2 separate regions of the Homo sapiens genome follow, and region 1 is linked to region 2. Evidence: promoter capture Hi-C in human tissues and cell types (Jung and others, 2019). All regions are on one chromosome and are shown on one strand. Each heading gives the region's core, a stretch centred on a gene start or on the middle of the fragment in contact. The rest is flanking DNA. Distances are from core to core; before and after follow the strand shown. Region 1 overlaps POLD1 (DNA polymerase delta 1, catalytic subunit). Region 2 holds the start of C19orf81 (chromosome 19 open reading frame 81).

The links. Contacts are between HindIII fragments. The study calls those that stand out against the background at their distance.
Region 1: a contact is called between a fragment that was not itself captured here and the fragment with the promoter of C19orf81 in region 2, in 2 of the 25 tissues and cell types used here (bladder and pancreas).

The regions. Positions count from the first base shown.
Region 1 is chr19:50,407,192-50,410,268 of GRCh38, reverse strand. POLD1 (DNA polymerase delta 1, catalytic subunit) reads right to left here. Exons shown (of 27, transcript NM_002691.4): 14 at 2,854-2,942; 15 at 1,368-1,484; 16 at 1,034-1,147; 17 at 603-750. Among named protein-coding and RNA genes, the nearest start is that of SPIB, 10 kb to the left of the region's middle. The HindIII fragment of the contact is 5,390 bases long and covers 1-3,077 here.
Region 2 is chr19:50,647,757-50,650,836 of GRCh38, reverse strand. It overlaps C19orf81 (chromosome 19 open reading frame 81), which reads right to left and starts at 1,392. Exons shown (of 5, transcript NM_001195076.2): 1 at 1,326-1,392. The coding sequence starts at 1,392. It also overlaps a transcript of SYT3 not described here. RefSeq lists an enhancer at 2,459-2,508. The HindIII fragment of the contact is 25,500 bases long and covers 1-3,080 here.

The DNA.
Region 1 (3,077 bases), core at 578-3,077, 240 kb after region 2:
CCTCATATGCCAGGAGCTGGGGCACTGACCCCAGCTTGGCAATCTCGGAAACTCAGGCCCTCTGTGGTTTCAAAGAATCTGTTTTTCTGTTCAAGCAGCAGAGCTGCCGTGGGTAGGCAGACCGGGACGCTGCCGTGGGGACGGTGAATGGCTTCCCTCCCCACGTCCCTTGGCCTCTGTGTGAGCGTCGCCTATTGAGAGGGGTGAGTCCCGCCCAGCCCCATCACTCCCCGACAGTCCGCACCTCCTGCTTTATCCGGCTGCAAAGCTCGTAGCGCCACTTGTGTCCTAAACACGTTTACACAGACCTGTCAGTGTCCCCACTGGGCTGCAAGATGACAGGGACAGGAGCTCTCATCCATTTTGTTCCCCTCTGTATCCCCAGGGCACAGAGTGAGCCCTGACCACAGTGTGTGCTCAGTAGGCATTTGCTGAGTGAAGGAATGGACCAATTGCTCAAGCCACATTGGCATCCTCTCTCTAGAAGGCCAGTGAGTTGGGGTGCCCAGTCCTCTGGATACAGGTCCCCCACATGGAGCCCTGGTCTCCTACACAGGGGGCCCACCTGCCCCCAGTTGCCTTCCAGGGGCCCGAGTGCCCACCTGTGAGATCTCCAGGCACGGCAACTTGCCCACCTGGGCGCCAGTGAAGCCGTATACGGAGTTGGCGCTCACCTTCAGCGCCAGCTGCCGTCCATCCAGGACCTGGCGCCGGAGGGGGTCTGTCTCCTTGGCCAGCTCGGCCTTGGCCCTGCGAGGGAACACGGGGAAAGCACACTCAGGCGGCACCTGGGCATTGGTCAGGGCTCCTTTCTGGAAGTGAGTGCCATGTACGGTTGGGCGTACTGTGCACTGCACAGAAGCTTCTGGCCAAGGGGGCAAAAGGAAGCTGCCAGGAGGGGATGCCTTGTGCTAATTCACGCACAGCTGAGGGCAGGGTGGCTGGGCAGCCCTGGGGTGTCCCAGTGAGGGACAGGGATTGCCCAGAGGCCCCAACAGGTCTGAGCTCCAAGCAGGCGATCTCCAGGGCTCACCTCTTCCGGGCACTGAGCAGGTTCTCCAGGATCTGGGGCAGCAGCCCCTTCCGCACTGAGGTCTTCACAAACTCGTCCCCGGTGGGGGTCCTGATGAACTGATCCTCAGTCAGGCTGGGTTGGAAGATGTTGGGGTGACTGCCGGCCACCCTCCTGCTCCAGCCCACCTCTGCCCTACGGTCCTGGCCTTGGCCATGAGCACACGCAGGCCCCTCAAGCACCCCTCCACTCCCTACTATCTCTGGGCCTGTGCCTATGCCCCCCACCAGACTGAGCCCCCCAAGGGAAGGCCCAGATGGGCCTCGGGGGACACATGCTGAATTGGGCACTATACCCCAGTTTCTGTGCAGTCCCGGGCCGAAGGAGCGTGGTGTAACACAGGTTGTGGGCCATCATGATGGACGGGTACAGCGAGGAGAAGTCCAGGGTGGCGATGGGGACGTCGTAGTACCTGGGAGGGGAGCAGCCGCGGCCGGGAGTCAGGGCTAGGAGTTCCCATGCCGCCCCCGCCCTGTCTTGTGGCCTCACCCTTTAAAAAAAAAAAATCATTCATTGGCTGGGAGCAGTGCTCGCTCCTGCAATCCCAGCACATTGGGAGGCTGAGGCAGGAGGATCGCTTGAACTCAGGAGTTTCAGATCAGCCTGGGCAACATGGCAAAACCCTATCTCTACAAAAAAATTTTAAAAATTAGCCAGGTGTGGTGGTGCACGCCTGTGGTCCCAGCTACTCAGGGGCCTGAGGCAGGAGGATTGCTTGAGCCTAGGAGGTGGAGTAAGCCAAGATCATGCCACCGCACTCCACCCTGGGTGACAGAGTGAGACCCTGTGTCAAAAAAAGAAAAAGAAAAAGAAAAATAATATATATAATTAATCTACTATTTTATTTTATTTTATTTTTTTTGAGACGGAGTCTCGCTTTGTCACCCAGGCTGGAGTGCAGTGGCGCAATCTCAGCTCACTGCAACCTCCACCTCCCGGGTTCAAGCGATTCTTCTGCCTCAGCCTCCCGAGTAGCTGGCACTGCAGGCGCCCGCCACCATGCCCAGCTAATTTCTGTATTTTTAGTAGAGACGGGGTTTCACCGTGTTAGCCAGGATGGTCCCAATCTCCTGAACTTGTGATCCGCCTGCCTTGACCTCCCAAAGTGCTGGGATTGATTACAGGGGTGAGCCACCGTGCCTGGCCTATTAATTTATTTTAGGGCCGGGGTGTTGCTCTGTCGCCCAGGCTGGAGGGCAGTGGCGCAATCATCGCTCACTGCAGCCTCCACCTCCTGGGCTCATCATCCTCCCAGCTCAGCCTCCCAAGTAGCTGGGATTACAGGCATGCACCACCACGCCTGGCTAATTTTTAAAAATTTTTTCGGCCGGGCACGGTGGCTCACGCCTATAATCCCAGCACTTTGGGAGGCCGAGGCAGGTGGATCACGAGGTCAGATCGAGACCATCCTGGCTAACACGGTGAAACCCCGTCCCTACTAAAAATGCAAAAAAAAAAAAAAAAAAAAAAATTAGCCAGGCGTGGTGGTGGGCGCCTGTAGTCCCAGCTGCTGTGGAGACTGAGGTAGGAGAATGGCGTGAACCCGGGAGGCAAAGCTTGCAGTGAGCTGAGATTGCGCCACTGCACTCCAGCCTGGGTGACAGAGCGAGACTCTGTCTCAAAAAAATAAAAATAAAAATAAATAAAAATAAAAAAATTTTGTGGAGCAGGGGCCTCGCTATGTTGCCCTGGCTGGTCTCAAACTCCTGAGCTCAAGTGATCCTCCCACCTCAGCCTCCCAGAGATTACAGGTAAAAACTGCACCCAGCCTGGGGCCTCACCCTTTGAGGGGCTCGATGACAGTGGCTCCCGTGTAGTCCTCGCCGCCCTCTGACTTCACCACGGGCATCAGCAGCCCCTCGTGCATGGCCTGGGAGGGGAGAAGGTGGGAAATGGAGTGGGTATAGGTGGGGCCGTGCGGATTGGGAGTGGGGAGAAAAAGTGCATCCAGGATGCCATTGCCTGGAGGGGGCCACAGACGTGCCTGGTGGGGGGTGGCGAGGAC
Region 2 (3,080 bases), core at 143-2,642:
CACTAAAAGAGACCTAAAGGCAGAGAAACAACGCCTGTTTTGCCATCAGGGCATTTGTTCGGCCTCGAAGGCTGAGGTGGGAGGATCACTTGAGCCAGGAGCTCAAGGCTGCAGTGAGTTTTGGTTTTGGGTGTTTTTGTTTGTTTGTTTGTTTGTTTTGTTTTTTGAGACAGAGTCTCCCTCCATCACCCAGGCTGGAGTGCAGTGGCACAATCTTGGCTCGCTGCAGCCTCTGCCTCCTGGGTTCAAGCGATTCTCCTGCCTCAGCCTCCCTAGTAACTGGGATTACAGGCACCCGGCACCACACCTGGCTAATTTTTGTATTTTTAGAGATGGGGTTTCACCATGTTGGCCAGGCTGGCTGGCCTTGAACTCCTGACCTCAGGTGATCCACTCACCTCGGCCTCCAAAGTGCTGGGATTATAGGCGTGAGCCACCACACCCAGTCCTGAGTTTGGTTTTCTATTACCTGCAGTTACATGCATCCTCACTGAGATACTACTCCATAAATGTTGAATGAGTGTAACTGCATGAGCTGTGCTACAGCACAGAGTGCTAGCAGGAAGTGCTGGGCTAGGAGCCTGAAGTTGTCAGCAGGGGTCAGACCACACAGGGCCTCAAAAGCCAGGCTGGAGCTTTGGGTCTCTGTCCTAGAGGTGACAGGAAGCTAGGAAGTGTTATGAGCAAGGGACAGCCAGGATCACTGCAGGAAGTCAGAGAGACCTCTCTGGAGCCATGGAGGGATAGGTAGGAGGAGAGAAACTGGGGACCAGGGAGGAGGTGAGGAGAGGGTCCACATGGAAGAGGATGAGACCTGGGACAGGGCTGCGGGGACAGAGAGGAAGGAATGGGGAAGGGAGAGTCAGAGGGCAGGAAGATAGGGCCTGATGGGCTGTGGGAGGGAATTGTGGGAGGTGGAAGGATGGCACCAGTGACTGGGTTGGCGGTGGGGCCATTTGAAAATGGAAACCAGGAAGGAGGAGAGCAGCTTTGGGGGAAGATGCTGAGCTCAGGGTGGGAGACAAGACAGTGAGGTTACCTAGGAGAAGAATGGCCTCAGAGGTGTTGCTTAGGCCCCAGAGGCTCATGGGAAATGTAGTTCTGAGTCCAGGGCATTGGCCAAGGAACTGCAGAGGCTCATGGGAAATGTAGTTTGAGGTCCAAGGGGGCCGCTCTCCAGGAATCTGGTGAATCCAGGAATGCTAGGGATGGCTTTCACTTTGGAGTGCCAGTGACTCGCTTAAGGCCACACTGTGAGCCCGGGCTACTACGCACTGCCTGGATGGAGGAAGTCCACCCCTTCCCCCAAAGACACAGCTCAGTACCTGCCTTCCTGTGCATGGTGGGGCTGCCCATGGCAGGGAAGCACACGGGCTCCACCTCTGGCTGCATCCTGGGAAGGTGGGTGAGGGATGTCTCAGGAAGGTGGCAAGAGAGGCTCTGCCTGGGCCACCCACCCCAGCTCCTTCTCCCCACCGCTGCCTCCTCTACCTCCTCTTTGAAGCCCCGGGGTAGAATTACAGAGGAACTGGAAGGCTGAGACCATGTGGAGATCTGGGTTCCCCTGACCTCAGGGACTCCCTGTGTGCCCCAATCCCTTCTTTCCCATTTCCCTGTTTTTCCTCCTATCTCTCTCTGTCTCCTAGAGTCCCTTTCCCCACCCCTCTCTCTCCACCTCCCTTCCTCATTCTCTCCCCATCTCTCTGCCCCCCTGCCTCCTCCCCTCTGTCCCCACGTCTCCACCACTCTTTTGCTTGATTTCTCTGCCCTCCTCCTCCCTCCTTCTCTCCTGGGCTCCATCTCTTCAGTCTCCATCAGTTTCCCCAGCATCTCCCCAGGCCCCCGTCCCTCCTTGTCTTCATCGTTTTCTGCCTCTCCCTAACCCCGTCACCCTCTCTCTGTCTTCCCACCTCTCACCAGTCTCCTTGCCCCATCTCTATCCTCTCCTAGCTGCCTCCACTGCCCCCTTGAGGCCCCCTCCCCTCTGTCATCCCCTTTCTGTTCCCACTTGCCCTCTGCTCATCCCTGCCCCAGCCAGGAACTGGTTAGAAACAGGCGAGATTCCAACGAAAGTGGGTTCTCTAGTGGGGAGGGGATGGTGGGCAGGGGGCCTGGTTGCCATGGTGCCTCCAGAGGGAGGGGGAGGGGTGGGGGCCTGGATTCCTGGGTCTGAGGGAGGAGGGCCTGGGGTCTGGACTCCTGGGTCTGAGGGAGGAGAGGATGGGGGCCTGGACTTCTGGGTCTGGGGTCTCACGGGGCCTCTCGTGCTAGAGAGAAGGGGTCTAGCCGTGTAGGTGCCTGTTCAGCATCCCTTTCTCTGGGTCTGCAGAGCTCTCTGCAGGAATTGTGGGAGAGGAAGCTGGACCTTCGCTTATTTGTTTTGTCTGTCCTTGCAGTCTTTGTCTCTGTTACTTGTATCTCTTTCTCTTCCTCTTTCTCCACATCCAGATGGTCTCTGGACTGTCTGTTGTTCCTGCTTACTAAGTATTCGTTCTAGGTGGTGGCACCTTGATTTCCTCAGTGATTTGTTCAGTGGCGAGCTTAAGAATCAATCTAGGCTACAAAGTCAACCTTTGGACTTTTGCTGGACCTGTTAGAAAACAGGGTTTTTCCCCTGTGGTTTTGGGGCTGGTCAGAGCCAGGGTTGGAGCTCTCGGTGCTACCACATCACCATGCAGGGAGATAACTTGCCTGAGAGCAAAGACAACACGAGGGAAGCATAGCCCAAAGATACAGACAGTTGGATTCCTGGAGATGATTGGAACACCTGGATCCAGCAATGCCTGAAGCCCTCATCCAATCAATAAACTTCCTTTTATGCTTAGGTCAATTTGATTTGCGTTTCCGTTATTAGCAATTAAAACAGTCCAGATTGAAATAGTCTTACTCAGTTCTGGGGGCCCTGACCCCCTCCTGGCATCTTCACATCTGCTTCTCTCCCATCAAGCTGTCTTCCATTTCCAGCTGGCAATTTTATCTCAGCGGGATGGAGGACATGATTGCCTTGACCACAGGCACACCTGACCCTCACAGCCTATCTGTCTCCAAGTTCTATTCCTTCTGCCTCTCCTTCCTCTCCT